Regions from separate parts of the Homo sapiens genome. Here regions 1 and 2 are each linked to region 3. Evidence: promoter capture Hi-C in 16 types of primary human blood cells and fetal thymus (Javierre and others, 2016). All regions are on one chromosome and are shown on one strand. The core of a region is centred on a gene start or on the middle of the fragment in contact, and the rest is flanking DNA. Distances in the headings are between cores, read along the strand shown. Region 1 overlaps LOC105371850 (a long non-coding RNA gene). Region 2 overlaps APPBP2 (amyloid beta precursor protein binding protein 2). Region 3 holds the start of PTRH2 (peptidyl-tRNA hydrolase 2).

Evidence for each region. Contacts are between HindIII fragments. The CHiCAGO score rates a contact against its expected background, and 5 or more counts as called.
Region 1: a fragment that was not itself captured here is called in contact with the fragment with the promoter of PTRH2 in region 3 in 1 of 17 cell types (neutrophils); the score reaches 5.6 in neutrophils.
Region 2: a contact is called between a fragment that was not itself captured here and the fragment with the promoter of PTRH2 in region 3, in 2 of 17 cell types (fetal thymus and total B cells). The highest score is 6.7, in fetal thymus.

Annotation. Positions count from the first base shown.
Region 1 is chr17:60,410,446-60,413,145 of GRCh38, reverse strand. The region is part of intron 2 of LOC105371850 (a long non-coding RNA gene); the gene reads left to right. It also overlaps a transcript of USP32 not described here. Among named protein-coding and RNA genes, the nearest start is that of CHCT1, 11 kb to the left of the region's middle. The HindIII fragment of the contact is 3,591 bases long and covers 1-2,700 here.
Region 2 is chr17:60,523,249-60,525,948 of GRCh38, reverse strand. It overlaps APPBP2 (amyloid beta precursor protein binding protein 2), which reads left to right. Exons shown (of 13, transcript NM_006380.5): 1 at 1-155. The coding sequence starts at 18. Among named protein-coding and RNA genes, the nearest start is that of APPBP2, 1.6 kb to the left of the region's middle. RefSeq lists a silencer at 1-17 and enhancers at 98-367, 88-796. The HindIII fragment of the contact is 1,064 bases long and covers 719-1,782 here.
Region 3 is chr17:59,706,040-59,708,739 of GRCh38, reverse strand. PTRH2 (peptidyl-tRNA hydrolase 2) reads left to right here and starts at 1,310. Exons shown (of 2, transcript NM_016077.5): 1 at 1,310-1,369. VMP1 (vacuole membrane protein 1) reads right to left here and starts at 1,086. Exons shown (of 12, transcript NM_030938.5): 1 at 992-1,086. RefSeq lists enhancers at 981-1,040, 841-1,496. The HindIII fragment of the contact is 5,892 bases long and covers 84-2,700 here.

The sequences.
Region 1 (2,700 bases), core at 153-2,652, 700 kb before region 3:
GTTTTCAAAAATGTTTTGTACTATTTTCTTCACTCTTATCTGATATTTACTGTAGTTTTCCATTTAATAGACCCCTGGTTGGATTTCACTTTTTTTTTCCTGTAGCAATGTTTTAATTTGGGCTTCATGTGCTCTAAAAATATCTTGTCAGGGTATCAAAATAACACTGCAGAATGGCAACCTCGGAACTTTAGAGCGTGTTTCTAAATAGTCTAATGATATGCAAGCGTCTGTGATCTTGTCAAAATTGCTGGGGCCTAATGATTTCCTCTTGGCTCTTTCTGGAAGGTTTTCTTTGCTAAGACAGAATTCAGGGAGATAAGCAGGAGAGAACTGAATGAATGTCAATGAATGTTGGAGCTGGGAATGATTTTGGAGAGGAAAAAAATGCATCTCAAATTTTGCAGCAATTTCTCCCCAAAGGACTCACTCTCACCACCTTTCTTCCAGGGCACCGTATTTGTACCCCACTCCCTCCCTTCAGGCCCAGATTTGGTGAGACTGGGGACTAATATTAGAGTTTTTCAGACAGAAAAATCACCTTGCCTTAGATCTTCAGAATCAGAATGTCCCAAGAGGGTCTGGAAATCACTATTTTTTTTTTTTTTTTTGAAACAGGGTATCACTCTGTCACCCAAGCTGGAGTGCAGTGGTGCAATCATAGCTCACTGAAGCCTTGACCTCTCAGACTCAGGTGATCTTCCTGCCTCAGCCACCTGCTCCCCCGCCCCACCGCCCCCATTCCCCACTAGTAGCTGGGACTACAGGTTCACATCACATACCCGGCCAATTTTTGTATTTTTTGTAGAGATGGGATTTCACCATGTTGCCCAGGCTGGTCTCAAACTCCTGGGCTCAAGCAATCTTCTCTGTCTTGGCCTCCCAAAGTGCTGGGATTATAGGCATGAGCCACCACACCTGGCTTGGGGATCAGTATTTTCATAAATATCCTAGGCAATTATCATCATCGGGCAAATTTGGAAAATACCGGTGTGGTGAGCTTGAATTCCAAGTTGGGCTTGTTGGGTCCAGTCAGGTAAATTACAGATTCTCTGATATTGTGCTAGAGCTGGCTCTAACAGGCTCATCAGAGCTGATTATTAAGTTTTTGCAATTTTGCCAGCTGTTTGCTAAACAGAAGCATTATTAAATATTAAATTATATTGAATGCAGGGACTCAAACAGATACTTATATACCAATGTTCACAGCAGCATTGTTCACAATAGCCAAAAAGTGGAAACAACCCAAGTGTCCATCAATAGATGAATGGATAAAAAAATGTGGTATATGCATGCAATAGAATATTATTCAACCACAGAAAGAATGAAATCCTCATATATACTACAACATAAATGAATCTTAAAAACTCTACTAAGTGAAATAAGCGAGACACAAATGAACAAATATATAATTCCACTTATATGAAATATCTAAAATAGGCAAATTCATAGAGACAGAAAGTAGAATAGGAGCTGTACATGGTGGTGCATGCCTGTAATCTCAGCTACTCTGGAGGCTGAGGTGGGAGGATCACTTGAGCCCATTAGTTTGAGACCAGCCAGGGGAACATAGTGAGACCTCTCTCTCTAAAACAAATAAATAAATACAAATTAAAATTAAATTTAAAAAATAGTGACAGACTCTCACTTTGTCACCGAGGCTAGAGTGTAATGGTACAATCACGGCTCAAACTGAAGCCTTGACTCCTGGGCTCAAGTGATCCTCCCACCTCAGCCTCCTGAGTAGCTGGGACTGCAGGCATGCACCACCATGGCTGGCTAATTATTTATTTATTTATTTATTTATTTATTTATTTATTTTTGAGACAGTTTTGCTTTTATTGCCCAGGCTGGAGTGCAATCGGGCAATCTCGGCTCACCGCAACCTCCACCTCCTGGGTTCAAGCGATTCTCCTGCCTCAGCCCCCAAATAGCTGGGATTACAGGCATGCACCATGCTCTGCTAATTTTGTATTTTTAGCAGAGACAGGGTTTCTCCATGTTGGTCAGGCTGGTCTTGAACTCCCAACCTCAGGTGATCCGCCTGCCTCGGCCTCCCAAAGTGCTGAGATTACAGGTGTGAGCCACCGTGCCTGGCCTGGCTGGCTAACTTTAAAAACTTTTTTTTTTTTGTAGAGGTGAAGGTCTCATTATGTTGTCCAGGCTGGTCTCCTAAGTAGCTGGGACTACAGGCACGTGCCACCATGCCTGGCTAATTTTTGTATTTTTAGTAGAAACGGGGCTTCACCATGTTGGCTAGGATGGTCTCAATCTCTTGACCTTGTGATCCCCCCACCTCAGCCTCCCAAAGTGCTGAGATTATAGGCGTGAGCCACCGCACCCAGCCGACAGTTTCTATTTCTAACCTATGTTATGTGCTTTTGACTCTTGTGATTTATATAGCATTATATAGTATAGACTGCATTTGTTTTTGTTTGCTCTTGCTTCTCTAGTTCTTTCTTTCTTTATTTATTTTTTGAGACAGTGTTTCACTCTGTGGCCCAGGCTGGCGTGCAGTGGTGCAATCTCGGCTCACTGCAAGCTCCGCCTCCCAGGTTCACACCATTCTCCTGCCTCAGCCTCCTGAGTAGCTGGGACTACAGGTGCCTGCCACCACGCCCAGCTAATTTTTTGTATTTTTAGTAGAGACAGGGTTTCACCGTGTTAGCCAAGATGGTCTCAATCTCCTGACCTTGTGAT
Region 2 (2,700 bases), core at 1-2,500, 820 kb before region 3:
AGGAGGAGGGAAGGAAGATGGCGGCCGTGGAACTAGAGTGGATCCCAGAGACTCTCTATAACACCGCCATCTCCGCTGTCGTGGACAACTACATCCGCTCCCGCCGAGACATCCGCTCCTTGCCCGAGAACATCCAGTTTGATGTTTACTACAAGGTATGCGCCGTGGGCCTCCTCTCTGCTCTCCTCCAGCAACCCCGGGGGCCGCACCCCCTTCCACGTCTGCGAACCCCCGCAGTTAACCCCTCACCCCTTCCGGCAGACTTGCCTCCCGAAACGTCTGGTGCGGTGTCTGCATTGCCAGTGGAGAAGCACCCCATCTCCCTATGCCCTGTCTCTTAAGCTTTGGGGCCTTGAAGTAATCTTGGGGAGTCTTGCTCCCTGTTGGTGTTCCCTTCTACACAGTGGCCCTCTTGGGTAGGCCTTTTGCGTGGACTTACTCTATCGCGCCCCTGTCCCACCTAGTCCTTTCCTTCTAGCCCGTATCTTCAGGATATTTTCCATCCTCTCCTTCCAATTAAGTGTCAGCATCAGCTGGACTTTTTTCCGTGCTCCTCCCCCCACCCATTCCTACTTTCTCATCTCGCCGCCTTCCTTCCCCGAGTGTTTTGGTGTTTTTGCTTCGTGTTCCTTCGTTTCTCCTTTCTTTTCCCAATTGGGAAGGAGTTAGGGATTATTGGAAATAATCTGTGTGTTTTATTTGCATATTCTTTAAAGCTTTGATTTTTTTGTGGGAGAGGAGGGGCTCTATACTTGAATTAGGGATTTTGTGAAAATGGGAGTGCTGATCAACTGTTTGAAGAGGACAGGGAGAGATCTTTACTGAAAGAAAAAAACACTTTAGATTATGTTCCTGTGTTTGAAAGTTGCAATCTTGCAGCATTCTTAAATCACTCCCCCTCAAAAATCTGAACAGCAAGTCTCCCAAGCCACTCTCCAAGGAGTTTCAAGGGTAAGTGTCCTTAGATGTGGACTATTTTTGCAGTGTTTTCAGAGTGTGGAGAACTTTATGGACTCAGAGCCTGCCCTTTTCTCTCCCCCACATTTGAATGTGAACACTGGATTTATTATTCAGTCTTCCTTGTCTTGAATCCGCGTCGATAACTCCTAGTGTCCAGTAGCCACCCATGCAAAATGTGACTAAAAGTAGAATGTAATTTATTTTTTAGACCTTAAATACTTCCTCTTGATCTGTAAGTTGGCTGGAACAGTGTAAACTGATATTTTAACAGATGTTTATGTTCTTACGTATGTACAGTGTTTTGTGGCAGTTGTTTTATTGGGAAGATTGCCTGCTTTCTCCACCCCTAGATTTTTTTTTTTTTTTTTTTTTTTTTTTCAGAATTAGCAGTTGATGGGCTGCGTTCTACTAAATCCAGCTGCTTTGCACCAATTCTAACAATTAAAGTGGGGTTTCCCCCCTAAATATTTGGAGAAGATTCATTTAGGTCATGCGTATTATTATTTTGGATTTCGAGAAAAAGCTCCCTTTTTTCCTAATCCCTTTGATACATTGATTTACTTTTGTGTATTCTAAGGAAATTTTGTTCATTTAAGATACATTCCTCCCCAGGAAGGACAAATTAGATTTGTCTTTCTCAGCCTGGGAAACTGCAGCTTTGTGTGTGCTCTCTGTCCATTTTATTAAATCATGTGTAATCTTGTACCTCATATGTAATCTCTCAGAGGAAATCATTGGGAATGTAATCCAAGTGTATTTACTAGTTGAATTCGTTCAAAATACTTGAATATCTTTTAGTAACTTTCACTTCTAATTGAAGCTTTTCATTTGAAGATTATTAGTATGAATAGATGGTGCTTTTGTTAGAATTTCTGTTTCACATAGTTCACACAGTTTTAATATTGCTCCTTTTTGGTACACTTTTACTTCTTAATAGTTGTATGCTTATTGGGAGTATGGCACTGTGCTAAGATGAGGGAAGTGTTAAACATGTGCCTGTAACTATGTTGTGCTTTTATGTGTTATTTTGTTTAATCTTCAGAATTAAACTGTGAAGTAGAGTACAGTATAACCTTGCTTTATTGGTGAGAAAGTTAAGTAATTTAATTAAGGTCTCAAACCTGATATTTAGTTCCTGAGTTCCTTGCTCTTTTACTTAGATATCTATCTTAAGATAGTAGATTATTTTAATGAAAGATATTATAACACTAATTTTTTTATTAGCTTCTATGGAAGTGGAGTGAAAGTCAGTCCCAGGACTCTATTCTAATCTTTAATGGAGATGTAAGAAGAAATTATTCTTTTTATTAAAATTTAAAAAAAATAGAGATGGGGTCTCGCTGTTTTGCCCAAGCTGGTCTTGAACTCCTGGGCTCAAGCTATCCTCCTGCCTCAGCCTACTGAGTAGCTGAGACTACAGGCATATGCCACCGCACCTGACTTTTCTTCCTTTTAAACACTATTAGCATATACATATAAGAAACTTTTTTTGTGGAGACAGGATCTTGCTCTGTTGCCCAGGCTGGAGTGCAGTTGTGATCATAGCTCACCGCAACCTTGAACCCCTGGGCTTAAGCAGTCTTTCCATCTCAGCCTCCTGAGTAGCTGGAACTACAGGTGTATGCCACCCATGCCTAGCTAATTTTTTTTTTTTTAATTTTTAGTATAGATGAGGTCTTGATATATTGCCCAGGCTGGAAAAACTTTTTAAAGCAATATAACTGCACACATAAATATAAG
Region 3 (2,700 bases), core at 61-2,560:
GCTAATGACAATACAATTACTAGGTAGTAGCAACTGGAATATTAAATTCTATCATGACAACACCAGAAACACTTGTACAAGCTTCTTCAAATGATCAATGTAATCTGTCCACAAAAATCTCTGACAAGCCCCAAAGTAGAAATGAAAGACGTTAACATTAGGATAAGGAGCGATGCTGCCAAAACACATCAACAGTGGCCAGTCTACGTGTATTATTAGATTTTTACATGGAGTTGCAGGTAAATAAAAGATGATTGTGTAAAATCTTCTGGAGGTCATAAGTAATCTAGCAGTGTGACACAGGGCCACATATGGTTTCTGGAATTTTAGAGATTAAGTCGACCTTCACGTTTTACTGCAAATACCTCCACTGTAATAAGATATAGAGGTCGGGGTTCAGGGGTTTGGAAAGGCAGACAACTCTTTTTCATTAAAGCAGTGAAAAATCTGAGAAGTTCCTCTCCAAGGGCTCTGCGGAGCGAAGGCCCATTCCCTTGGCTACCCTGTACCACCAGAGCTTTAGATGGCACTTGCACGCCTGGATTTCGTTTAGGAGCGAATACATCTAGCATCATGCGCCAGAGGTTCGGGAGAGCAAAAACCAAACTGACAGATCCTGAGAAATAGCTCAGTCATCAGCAGGGAAGACCTTCTCCACTTACTCCAAGGTCCTGGACATCCCGGGACTAAGAGGTTCTCTAAAGAAGCCTAGCAAGGCTTCCAAGTACGCGGAGAGGAGAACGAACAGCCCGGTGTCTGGGTTCAATGTCCGGGTGACCAACCATGAGAAGGTGTCCCAAATAACCTGGCTACCGCCAGCGTGAGACATCCAGGGTGAGACATCCAGTCAGCAGCGTCCTAAAACACTGCTGGAAGTCGGAATCACAGTGCCCCAGATCCGCAATGCCTAAGTGGGAGAGCTCCGGAAGACGCCAAGCTCTGAGGACAGCCTCAGGCTTCGGTCCCCAATTCCCTGAGTTAGTTTACCTACCCGCTCCGACCCCGGCTGCTCCGGATCTCAGGATCCTGGAAGCTGCTCCTTACGGACTCTCACACCCGCCGCTGGGCTCCAGACAACCGGAACCCGCTCACGTCACTTCCGGTCCGGTCCCTCTGCCCCCTGAGACAGCCTCCAGAAGGGATACGTTCCTCCCTCCTTTCGGCGAGCTCGGTTGATCCTCGCGGGATTTCAGTTAGGCTCTTAGTGCGGGCCCTGTGGGTGTGGCAAGAGGAAGAATGACTGCTCGCTTTGTGATTCTTGATCCGGAACTTGTCACCCAGGAACCCCGGAAGAGGTAGCTCACGCGATAGAAACGTGTTCGCTGCCCAGAAGAAGGGAAGGCGCGAGTGAGGAAAGGAGGTACTGTAGGTAGGTTGGTTGGCTCCTTACAGGGCGAAGGAGACCAATATCATTATTCATTTTCTCGCCAGTAGGAACGTTTCTTTTCACCTCGTTGCATTACCCACCTTCTTCATTTTCTCCTTTATAAACTGTCTTCCGCCCAGGGGCCGCTGAGCCCTCTGTTCCTGTTCTGCGAACCGTCCTTTGGAGGAAAGGAACAGGCTGCTGGGGAGGGGAAGACTCAGAATTTCTAGTTCCCAGCAAAGCCTCCAGGCAGGCAGTATCGATGCGCTCTCTCCGAAATTGATAAAATAGCGAGCAGGCCTCATACCCTCAGCTGGGCACTTATGAATATCCCCAGCGTTTCGAGCTGTCGAGCTCTGCGTGGAAAGAATTGGTTTCTAAGAATATAGTCGAAAATTTGGGGCCGGGCGCGGTGGCTGACGCCTGTAATCCCAGCACTTTGGGAGGCTGATGTGGGCGGATCACCTGAGGTCAGAAGTTCGAGACCATCCTGGCCAACATGGCGAAAACCCATCTATACTAAAAATACAAAAATTAGCCGGCGTGGTGGCGCGTGCCTGTAATCCCAGCTACTCGGGAGGCTGAGGCAGGAGAATGACTTGAACTCGGGAGGCGGAGGTTGCAGTGAGCCGATATCGCTCCATTGCTCTCCAGCCTGGGCGACAGAGTGAGACTTCGTCTCAGAAAAAAAAAAAAAAGAAAGAAAAAATTTCCCCCCTTTTTCACACAAAGAGATTAACTAGAGAGGTATTAATCCTTACTGACATACCCCAGGCACCATACTAGACTCTGGGAATATGTTATACAGGGAAAGTGGGGCAGTGGCTTAAGGGTCAGAGAAGATTTGGGAAAGGTTTGTTTGTTTTTTTCGGTTGTAAACTGCAGACCCGGCGCGGTGGCTCAGCCTGTAATCCAACACTTTGGGAGGCTGAGACAGGAGGATTGCTTGAGCCCAGGAGTTTGAGAACAGCCTGGGCCACATAGGGGGCCACATAGTGAGACCCTGTCTCTTAAAAAAAGATTAACGGGTGGAGCATGGTGCAGAAGGAGGTAATGGGATCAAGAGCACTACTGAAATGGGTTTACTGAGGCAGGGGAATTAGAAGGCACCAAGAAGAAGATTTTATAGGATGTACTTATTTTGTTCTGCTGTCATTGCCCAGAATTATTTATGAGACAAAGAATGGTTATTTGTTTTACCTTAGTCTTAGGCACTAGGCTTATTGATACGCTTGTCGTAAGTGTACAGAAAAAGAGACAGACATGTTGTTTTAGAGGAGTTAGATGATAATCTGATCAGATTAATATGAGATTAGAACATCCTAAAGAACAAA